Linked DNA regions of Homo sapiens: region 2 is linked to region 1. The links are contacts of gene promoters, found by promoter capture Hi-C in human tissues and cell types (Jung and others, 2019). All regions are on one chromosome and are shown on one strand. Each heading gives the region's core, a stretch centred on a gene start or on the middle of the fragment in contact. The rest is flanking DNA. Distances are from core to core; before and after follow the strand shown. Region 1 holds the start of GPRC5A (G protein-coupled receptor class C group 5 member A). Region 2 has its middle 56 kb from the start of EMP1.

What was found. Contacts are between HindIII fragments. The study calls those that stand out against the background at their distance.
Region 2: a contact is called between a fragment that was not itself captured here and the fragment with the promoter of GPRC5A in region 1, in 1 of the 25 tissues and cell types used here (hippocampus).

Annotation. Positions count from the first base shown.
Region 1 is chr12:12,889,295-12,895,153 of GRCh38, reverse strand. It overlaps GPRC5A (G protein-coupled receptor class C group 5 member A), which reads right to left and starts at 3,592. Exons shown (of 4, transcript NM_003979.4): 1 at 3,490-3,592. The HindIII fragment of the contact is 16,829 bases long and covers 1-5,859 here.
Region 2 is chr12:13,249,752-13,255,610 of GRCh38, reverse strand. No RefSeq gene overlaps it. Among named protein-coding and RNA genes, the nearest start is that of EMP1, 56 kb to the right of the region's middle. The HindIII fragment of the contact is 3,421 bases long and covers 1,127-4,547 here.

The sequences.
Region 1 (5,859 bases), core at 2,343-4,842:
AAAAGATATTATATTGACCAAAAGGCTTGTTTTATAATAATTAGGGATGCTCTACACTGAAGATAAAACCATCCTGGGCCGGGCACGGTGGCTCACGCCTGTAATCCCAGCACTTTGGGAGGCTGAGGCGGGCAGATCACGAGGTCAGGAGATCAAGACCATCCTGGCTAACACGGTGAAACCCTGTCTCTGCTAAAAATACAAAAAATTAGCCGGGCATGGTGGCGGGCACCTGTAGTCCCAGCTACTCAAGAGGCTGAGGCAGGAGAATGGCGTGAACCCGGGAGGCAGAGCTTGCAGTGAGCCGTGATCGCACCACTGCACCCCAGCCTGGGTGACAGAGCGAGACTCTGTCTCAAAAAAAAAAAAAAAAAAAAAAAACCATCCTAGACTTTTATGCACCAACTAATATAGCACCAAAATACGTAAAACAAAAAGTACTGAAGGCTGGGTACAGAGGCTTACACCTATAATCCCAGCACTTTGGGAAGTGAAGGCAGGAAGATTGCTTGAGCCCAGGAGTTTGAGTCAAGCCTAGGCTACATGGCAAAACCCCATCTCTACAAAAAATTTAAAAATTAGCCAGGTGTAGTGGTGGGTGCCTGTAGACCCAGCTACTCAAGAGTCTGAGGCAAGAGGATCACTTGAGCTTGGGAGGTGGAGGTTACAGTCAGCCAAGATTGTGCCACTGCACTCCAGCCAGGGCAACAGAGCAAGACCCTGTCTCAAAATAAATAAATAACTGCTGAAAATACAAGGAGAACCCAAAGGCAATACTATAGTTGCATGAGACTTTCATACTTCTTTACCAGTCCTTGGCAGATAAAATATACAATATGAATAAGAACATGGTAAAATTGTGTAAATGTTCTATGGATACTTAAATAGAAATATTCTCTATCTTCATATCTTATTAGATCTCCATTACTAATCATATAATTCAGATCCTCTATATCAGTGATCAGCATAGATTTTCTATAAAGGGCCAGGTTATAAGCAATTTAAGACTCTGCAAGCCACACATTTGTAGCATGAAAGCAGCATAGATGATACATAAACATATGAGCATTGCTGTGTTTTAGTAAAATAGTGGATTACAGGTTGTGGCTCATGCCTATGATCCCAGCACTTTGGGAGGCCGAGGCAGGCAGATCACCTGAGGTCAGGAGTTTGAGACCAGTCTGGCCAACATGGTGAAACCCTGTCTCTACTAAAAATACAAAAATTACCCAGGCGTGGTAGCGGGCGCCTGTAATCCCAGCTACTTGGGAGCCTGAGGCAGGAGAATGGCTTGAAACCTTGAAACCGGGAGGCAGAGGTTTCAGTGAGCCGAGATCACGTCACTGCGCTCCAGCCTGGGCAAGAGCGAGACTCCATCTCAAAAAAACGAAAACAAAAACAAAACAAAACAAAACAAAAATCACTTTATTTACAGAAAGAGGCTATAGGCCATATTTGGTCCATGGACCATAGTTTGCCATCTCTACTCTATTATGATTGCTTAATAGGAACTATGGTCCATGGTCCAAATGGAACATTTGCCAAAAATGAGCATATTTAGAATACAAAGACAAATCTGGAATTAGAAAATAAGAAATGTGCAGACCATATAGTCTGACCACAGTGCAATAAAAATGAGAATAAAAGAAGCAAACACCCTGAACTACTCAGGAAGTCAAAGATTCCTCAAGCAAAAATACTCCTCAATTTATTGTTTACTATACCACCATATTAATTCCTCAGCTTAATCTTGGGACTTTAAATAGTAGTGGACCCAGAATGAGAAGAATAAAATCACGCCGTCAAAATTGTTCTTCATACCCTGTTGTCTTCGATTACCATTCAAGACTAGAATACAAAAAAGCCAGTTCTAAAGGGAACTTCCAAGGCGACGTGTGCAGATGGAGAGGGGCCAGAATCGAAACACAGGAGGGGAAACTGGGGGCCTCCCCAAGACCCCTATGAGGAACTCAGGCCCAGCCCCTTGCCTGATCACAGTTCCATGTTCCTGCGGAGCTGGGAGGAGAAATCAGTCTTCCTGACTCAAGGTTGAGAGCTCTTCCCGGGAAACCAAAGGGTTCTGCTCATTCCATTCTGCCCTTGAGGCACTCACCTCTCCACGCCCTTGGAGAGGTCCCTTGTTTCCCACGTAGCGCCTCTCCCGGCCCTTCCTTCCCCTCATTCCTTCCCTCACCTAGCAGACACCGGCATGCAAACCTGGAGGGTGTGTGCCCCCTCCGCCCTCACCCCTCCCGTGGTCCCTAGCCCATTGTGTCTGAAGTAGCTGAAGTGTTCCCCTTCAGGAATGAACCCACAGCAGTGGCTGATTCGGCCGAACCCTTCAACAGGTGTGGTGTTTACACAAGCCTCTGAGGAGACAATCAGGAATGGAAAGAAGTCAGGAATGGAAAGTCCTTCAAATTCCTTGATTCTGAGCAGGTTTCAGCTGTTAGCTAGCCTTTCCCATGGATGTTTAAAGCTATCTGTGGCCGGGCGCGGGGGCTCACACCTGTAATCCCAGCACTTTGGGAGGCTGAGGCGGGCAGATCACCTTAGGTCGGGAGTTTGAGACCAACCTGACCAACATGGGGAAACCCCGTCTCTACTAAAAATACAAAATTAACCAGGAGTGGTGGTGCATGCCTGTAATCCCAGCTACTCGGGAGTCTGAGGCAGGAGAATCGCTTGAACCCGGGAGGTGGAGGTCGCGGTGAGCTGAGATCGCAACATTGTACTCCAGCCTGGGCAACAAGAGTGAAACTCCATCTCAAAAAATAAAATAAAGCTATTTGCCAGCCTTCCCCATGGATGTTTAAGGGACCAGATGGAACAGCATCTATGCTATTCCCAAATCCTATCCATAAAGTCGGTAGTGGAAGGTGCACTCTCAGCGCACATTCAACTTTCATCTGTCCCAGGTTTCTGAGCAACTCAAGGCACACCAGAGTGGAACTGACCGCCCACACATCAAGAGAAAAGGGATGGGCTTCTAGATCTAATTCCCAAAACTCAGAAGGGCTTTTTGCAGCATCTGGGTAAAATAGTAGCTGTCACCGTGTCCTCCCTCCTGCCCCTGCCCCTTGTTTCCCACTCCCCCTCCACTCCCAGTACCTTCGGGTCCTCTGAGATCTTTCTCCCTCTATTCTTTTCCTGCAGAGTGATCCCAGAGCTGCTCACCTCCTGCCTGGCCGGATTCCATCTACTCAAAGTTTGTAGAATGTGTCCGAGCAGAAACTATTACCCTGATTATCTCTTTGCTCTCTGCCTCTATCTTAGCCTAGGAAACCCGCAAAGGGGAAAAAAAAAAAAAAAAATCTGAGTTGTTAAACTAGAGGAACTGTTTCCTAGGGAATTTTTTTCTCATAGCCAACTGTATTCCATTACCAGGATTTCTCTCCTCTTCTATCCCACCCCTCCCAACGCCCCGCTCTCCCCAGACGATTTAAATCCGGAGGCCCCAGCGCTCTGGGCTCCTGGCGCCTCACTTACCCTAGTGCCAAGGCGTTGGCCGTGAACTTGGTGCTGCTTCCCGCGCGCAAGAGGGCAGCAGGCGAGCTCCTCAGTGCTGGGGGAGACCTTGGACAGCTATCCCGCCCTCGCACTCTGAGCAGTTGTTATAAAGGCGGCCCTCGCCGGAGGGAGGGAACGAGCGAGGGGTGAGCAGAGGGACAAGGAGGGGGAGGGTCGAGGGAGAGGACACGCCTATTCCAGTTCCACGGCACTTCATGCTGTTATGAAAATAAAGTCCCCGTGCCAGGGAATGACCCAAAAACCGTCTGACGTCAGAGGCACAGTCACCCCTGGAAGCTGGGCGGGGGTGACCACCCGGCCCTGCCCAGCGCATCGGACTCCTCCGAGACGTGCTCACGCGCTGGTCCCAGGGCGCCGGCTACGAGAGGGGAGCCGGAGCAGACCAGCTCCTTACGGGCCCCGCCAGCTGTCACCTCCCGGGGGAGCCACACCCGCCTCCCCGCAGGCACTCGGGTCCACCCGGGGCAAGGGCCCAGCCCGCGAGATTGCAGCAGCTCCGCCGTCAAGTCCAGCGGGACAAGCCAGCCTTCCTCCACTTTCTTTGACCTTAGCTTAGCCTTTCTCTCCATCACTCTCCCCCAGCCACTGCCGTATGGGAAGCCAGGCTTCAGAAAAAGGAGGCAGCCACCTTCTCAGGGCTCCCCAGCCAAAGCCACGTGAAAGCCAAGGAAAACTTCCCCCACCAGGTCCGTAGTTAGCTCAGCAGCTCCACCTGTCAGAGTCTAGACAGGCACCATTAGTGCTGCCCTGGGGCTGAGAGATCAGTATCTCTCCTTTCCTAACTGCCTCTCCTAAAGCCTCGACAATGCAGGCTGATTGAACGGGGGCGCCAGATGAAATTATGAAATGAAGGAATTTGCTTTGGTGCCTGGTTTCCCCTCCCTCCACTGCCCACTCCTCTTCCAGGATCAAGCCAATCGGACCGAAACTCGTCTTTGTTTACGTGTGGAACGATCCTGGAGTGGCTGCCCGCCTGTGTCGGGGCTCAAGCCAGGTTCTACCCCATGCCACGGGGAGGCAGGAGGGACTCTGTTTTTAAAGTGGTTATCAGCGCGCTTGGTAAACTAATCTGGATTATTCTGCATATGAAGAAATGGGGGAAGGCCCAGGGCTCCCCAGCTTTCTCTTCACTTCTCCCCACACCCCAAGTCTCCAGAGCCTAAAGTGCTTTTAAAATGTGACCTACTGGAGACTGTGACCCCACCATTGTTAGGTTTTTATTTCACTCCCAAAAAACCACAGGCAGTGCCTTGAGTGTTGGAACACTTTGAGGTATGCAGCCCAGGGGTCTGTGAGTCCACCCATTTCACACCTAAGACTCCCAGGGGTGTGTGTGGCAGAGTGGGGGTGGGTACTGAGAGACTGGTGGGACTGCAAATGACAGTGCTTTATAGTGTGTGCCATCCGCTAAGTCAGGGCTTCTCTCCGGACCCCAGCGTTCTCGTCTGTTCAAGAAGTTGAACTAGACTACCATTGTACAATAGAACTATAATTCAAGCCACAAACATAAGCCACATTTGTTTTTTATTTTTTGTGTGTTTTTTCTTTTTTAGACAAGGTCTCGCCGTCACCCAGGCTGGAGTACAATGGCACAATCGGCTCACTGCAGCCTCAATCACCCAGGCTCAAGCTATCCTTCCACCTCAGCCTCCCAAGCACCCAGGACCACATGTGTGCATTACCACACCTGGCTAATTTTTTTGTTTGTTTCTTGTTTGAGACACTCTCACTTTGTCACCCAGGCTGGGGTGCAGTGATACCATCATGGCTCACTGTAAGCCTTTACCTCCCAGGCTCAAGCAGTCTTCCCGCCTCAGCCTCCCAAGTAATTCTTTTTATTATTTATAGAGACAAGGTCTCGCTGTGTTGCACATGCTGGTCTCAAACTCCTGGGTTCATGCCATCCTCCAGCCTTGGCCTTCCAAAGTGCTAGGATTACAGGTGGGAGCCACCACACCTGGCCCACATATGTCATGTTAAATTTCTAGCCACATTAAAAGAAGTACAAAGAAACAGGAAAATTAATTTTAATAACACTGTATATTTTTTACCCAAATATGATCCCAAATATGATCATTTCAACATGTAATCAATATTTTTAAAAATATTAAGGGGCTATTTTACTTCTTTGGTTTCCAACTATATCCTCAAAAACCCAGTGTGTCTTTTATATTTAAAGCACCTGTCAGTGTGGACCAGCCACATTTCCATTGCTCAAAAAGTGTGTGTGGCTTGTGGCTACCACACTGGATAGTGAGGACTAGTTGTCCCTGGTGGCTCTTCCAGCACGGAGTCTGAATCACCATGTCTAGGGTGAGTTTCATGACA
Region 2 (5,859 bases), core at 1,588-4,087, 360 kb before region 1:
TGCACGTTTACACTTCTTTTTTCATCTTTTTTTTCTTTTAAGTAACCTTTCGTGAGAAAGTGTCAGCTTTATAATTTTATATAATAGTAAACCTTTTGCCTTGGTATAAAAATAATTAGAGGCCCTTCCTAAGTAAAAGACACAAAAAGACAAAAACCCTGCTAGTGATGTCTAGAAGTAGACTTGGGTTCCTCTCCCAGTGAGAAGGTCTTGTTATTATAGAAAAGACATGTTATAGACAATGGATTCCTTTTTCACTGGCTCCCAGGAAAAAAAAAAAAAATCAAGACTGGTATCCCAGCTACCCTGTTAACTTAAAATCCCTACTGAAGAGTAAATCACCTAAGGGAAGTGCTTTTTTTCTGAAAAGACATTTCTAGTGAAATTTTTCTCTTAGTGGTGTTGAATTTATTATTTGTAGAATGCTGTCCTTTGTATCTAACTAATTATAGTACAAGTGATTTTAAGTCATCAAAATAAAATGCAAGCTAACAGTTACTGAACGCTTACTAAAATACATGATTTTAAAATCTGTATATGTCTTAGTTTATTTAATCCTTACAGCTCAAGATGGTGGAACTACTGTTATCCCCATTTTAAAGTTAGGGAAACTGAGATACAGACAGAATTAATAGTCCGGTCCAAGCTTGCACAGAATATGTGAAGCTGTCTAAATGGCCCCAGGAGGTGAGTTTACCCATTACTATACTCTGACTTATAATAGATTAACATCTCCAAGGTGACATATCTGTGAAAATAAACGAACCATTCTAACTCCACAGCTCTGTTAAATTAAGTTTGGCCTAAAGCTGTCTCTGTACATATTTTAAGTTTGGCCTAAATTTGCCTTTGACTTGTGTGGCAGCCCCTTGCTAATTGCCTGAACTTGGGCATGATTCTTACATTCTGAAAGCTTGTTTTCTTTTAAAATCAATCATGTGAAAGCAACAATAATAATTACAAAAGGAGCCATTCTTTGTACATAATGAACTGTAACCTAACTTGATGTGCATACGTAAACACACTGTAACCTACTCTTGTAAGAGGTAACTAAGTCTCAGCCAACCACAGGCAGCCAACTGTTCAAAGCAGGTTCAAATAAGGCAAATGCCCAGCTGTAGCCAATCCAGCTGTTTCTGTCCTCACTTCCGTTGTATGGCACTTTCCTTTTTCTGTGAATACCGGGAGTCGCTCTGAACCTATTCTGGTTCTGAGAGCTGCCCAATTCACGAATCTTTCTTTGCCCAATTAAACTCTGTTAAATTTGTCTAAAGTGTTTCTTTCCACAGCTCCTTCTGGTCCTCGACTTTTCTATCCATCCACCTAGCCATCCATAAGCTTTATCCTAATCCTAAACATGTGAGTTAAGCAGATGAATGAATATATAGATGTGGAAGAGAAACAGAAATAGAGAGAGATAGAGAAACATTGTGCGCATACAGAGAGAGAAACAGAGAGCATGTGTGTGTATCTATATATAGAGAGAGACAGAACATGTGAAGCAAGGGACAGGCAGCAAATGAGGAGATTTTGATTCAGGATTCTTAACCTTGAGTGTGTGGGGTCCATGAACATCTTAGGATTATATGCAAAGTGTCACATTTATATGCATTTTTCTGGGGAAAGAGTCCTTAGCTATCTTCAGATCCTCAAAAGTGCCTGTGTTCCTGACAAGATTAAGAATCACTGATTTCAATAAAGTATAAAATAGTGCACACACCAGTTATCTTCTCCTTCTTTCGTGTGGGACCACTGCCTACACAATCTATGTTCTTCCTTTTGGTCAAAAAGTGAAAGAAGACAAATAAGAAGGCCAGGTCATCAAGAGACATTAAGAGTATCTTTGGAACTCACTGACACGTTCTTTGTTACTTTCAATAGTTAATGCACGATATACTAGATGTTAACTCAAACATGGTCAAGGGGACCAGGCACGGTGGCTCATGCCTGTAATCTCAGCACTTCAGGAGTCCAAGGCGGGAGGATCACTTGAGGTCAGGAGTTCCAGAACAGCCTGACCAACATGGTGAAACCCTGTTTCTATTAAAAATACAAAAATTAGCCAGGTGTCATGGTGGGCACCTGTAATCCCAGCTGCTCAGGAGGCTGAGGCATGAGAATCATTTGAACCCGGTAGGTGGAGGTTGCAGTGAGATGAGATCACACCACTGCACTCCAGCCTTGGCAACAGAGCAAGACCCTGTCTCAAAAATAAAAACAAACATGGTTAAGGGAAGAGGATCAACTTTTACTAAGGACCCACTATATGATAGGCACTTAATTTTTCTAACAACACTGTGCTATAGGTATTATTATTGTTGTTCTCATATGATTGATTTTAAAAGAAAACAAGCTTTTGGAATGTAAGCATCATGCCCAAGTTCAGGTATTTAGCAAGAGGCTGACTTGGCAAATCATTTCATGGTCTGTCATAATGAATATGGGTATGTGTGTACATGTGTTCTTGGGACAGAGTGACCAGGTAGATCCGCTAGCTCTGTTGCATCTCCGAAGCAACAAATATTTGTCGGGGGGTGGAGAGGAGAAGAAGCTCATTATTTGGAGATCAAATAACTCAATGCTGCTATTATTTCTAGCTCCTGATTCCCCTCCATTAATTTATCACCTTCTTCTATGAATTGCATTGAACAACTCTGTATGCTAGGCATTGGGTAGAGTCTAGAATATCATCTTGCAATATTGTCTCCAGTAGACCCATGGTCCATGCCATTGGAAGCTCACTGTCTAGGAGAGACCACAGGCATGTGAGTAAATCATTACAGTACTGTGGGACAGGGATTCAAATATAAGAATGTCCTGAGGCCGAGCGGTGGAATGAAGAAGCAGCTTGATGTTGCCAAGATGTTTCAACTGAACCTTAAAGAATGGGGAGAAATTCCCAGCAAACAATAGGTGATGGTTAATTTTATGTGTCAGTGTGGCTGGGCCACAGTGCCCAGATATTCGGTCAAACAATCTTCTGGATGTTTCTGTAAGGGTGTTTTCAGATGAGATTGACATTTAAATAGATGGACTTTGAGTAAAGCAAATTGCCCTCCTTAATGTGGGTGGGCCTCACTCAATTATCTGAATAGAGCAAAAGACTGATCTCCCTGAGCCGGAAGGAATCCTGCCAGCAGATGGCCTTCAGAAATGAACTGCAACATTGGCTCTGCCCTGGGTGTCCAGCCTGCTGGCCCATCCTGCAGATTTTGGACTTGACATAATTGCATGAACCTATTCCTTAAAATAAATCTATTTCTGGATATATACATATCCCATTGGTCTGTTTTCCTGGAGAACCCTGACTAATACATAGTGAAAGTAGGACTCTTCTAGGCAGAGGGAACAGCATGTACAAAGGCACAGAGACTCCAGAAACAATGATTCAGTTGAATCATAGTCCAGTCAGTTTATTGAATCTTGCTCTGGTGCCTGGTCTTATTGCCTGGCCTGATCACTCTATGCTTGCTCCCATAAATAGATCCTAGGAATATGATCTTTCTAGTCTGTTTGACCACCCCAGTGGTTTTGAAAATGCATAAACTGCTTATAGTTCCCTAAAGTAATGAGTCTCCAGGACCAGTAGTAACAGTTATCAGTTGGAAGATGCACAAGTTTTATCTGTCACCATGGCCGAGGTGTGCACAACTGCTACTGTTAGAAAACAACATAGGCTCCCGGACAACATATTGTTTTTTGCCACAATTTTATCATCAGTACCCCAGGGGATAATCTGTGTCAGTTAAGGTTCTCCAGAAAAATGGAACCAACAGGATAGGTGTGGGGAGATAGAGAGAGAGAGAGATTTTAAGAAATTGGCTCACGTGATTGTGGAAGCTTGGAAAGTCCAAAGTCTGCAGAGTAGGCCAGCAGACTGGAAACCAGGAAGAGTTGGAGTTCAAGTCCAAAGGCAATCTGCTGGCTGGGCGCAGTGGCTCATGCTTGTAATCCCAGCACTTTGGGAGGCGGGCAGATCACTTGAGGCCAGGAGTTCAAGACCAGCCTGGCCAACATAGTGAAACCCCATATCTACTAAAAATACAAAAATCCAGGCTGGCACGGTGGTGCATGCCCGTAACCCCAGCTACTCAGGTGTTCTGCATCATGCCTGTTCCCATTTGGTGTGCAGTCCATTTGTACAGAATTTTAACCATTGGTTTGTTCATTCATTTTTTTCATCCCATTCAAAGCAACTGTGTGACAGTGTATCCTTTTTATTTATTTTGCAGAATAACAAACTGTATGTTTTAGACCAAAGGATTTAGCTGGAAGAAGGAGGGAGGAGCGAGGCTTGGGGAGGTATGTATTCTGTCACTGACTTTGTATGGTGACCACTTATCATGTGCAAGTTGGAACGCAATGCCCAGTTTGAAGCTCATTATTTCTGATAGACCGCCTCTGAACTCTTGTAGCGGGAAATGGAGTTGCCTCTCAACATCCATTCTGACCTGTCCGCTATTCCTGCTGTGTAACAGCCCAGGTGTTTAGGTTGAATAGACCCCACTCCTAGTCTAAGGGTAAACCTTAATTGGAACCATTCACAGTGAATGATTCAGTGCCTGGCAACGAATTGAGGCATTAAGTTCATCAGTACATGTTAATCCTTTGGCCATGTGGGTGGGCACAAGATGCTAAAAAAAAAGTGATTGTGGGGAGCCTTCTTCTCCCCAGCCCTAGAAGAAGCATTAGTCTCTATTGCTGCTGGTAATCATTCCTTCCTTCATTCTTCTCTCTAGCCATGTTTTATTGGTGGCCTCTGTTCCAAGCAAAGTTTAGTTCTAAGTGCTGGGGGTACCAAGTCATTGTTATCCTGGATCTTACAATTTAGTGGAAGAGGCAGAAAATAAACAAACATCTAAATACATTATACACTGTGATGGTTACTTTTAGATGTCAACTTGGCTAGATTAAGGAATGCCTGGAGAACTGGTCAAGCATTCCTTCTTGGTGTGTCTGTGAGGGTGTTTCCAGAGATTAGCAGGTGAGTCAGTGGACTGAGGAGGGAAGACCTGCTCAGTGTGGGCAGACACCATCCAGTCAGCTGGAGGCCAGGATAGGACAAAGAATGAGAGAAAGGATTTCCTCTCTGTCTCTCCTGGAGCTGGGACACTCTCTTCCTCCTGCCTGAAGACAGCACAGCGCCAGACTCTTCAGCACTGGGACTCCATGACTTACACTAGCAGTCACCCAGGTTCTCAGGCCTTCAGCCTCAGACTGAGAGTGACATCACTGGCTTCCCTGGTTCTGAAGCTTTGGGACTTGGTTTGAACCATGCTACTGGCACCCCAGGGTCTCCAGCTTGCAGATAGCCTGTTATGACACTTCTAGGCTTCCATAATCACATGAGCCAATTCCCCTCGTAAATAACCTCTCATACCTATCTATCTATCTCCTATAGGTTCTGTGAATGGAAGAATCATGAGGTTCATGAATTTAGAGAGGAGAGCTTTATCTCTCATAAAAAGTGCAGCCTGCAGTTTACAATAGCAAAGACTTGGAGCCAACCCAAATGCCCATCAATGATAGGCTGGATAAAGAAAATGTGGCACATATACACCATGGAATACTATGCAGTCATAAAAAAGAATGAGTTCATATCCTTTGCAGGGACATGGATGTAGCAGGAAGCCATCATTCTCAGCACACTAACACAGGAACAGAAAACCAAACACCGCATGTTCTCACTAATAAGTGGGAGTTGAACAATGAGAACACAGGGACACAGGGAGCGGAACAACACACACCAGCACCTGTTGGGGTGGTGGTGGGGGCAAGTGGAGGGAGAGCATTAGGACAAATACCTAATGCATGTGGGGCTTAAAATCTAAATGATGGGTTGATAGATGCAGCAAACCA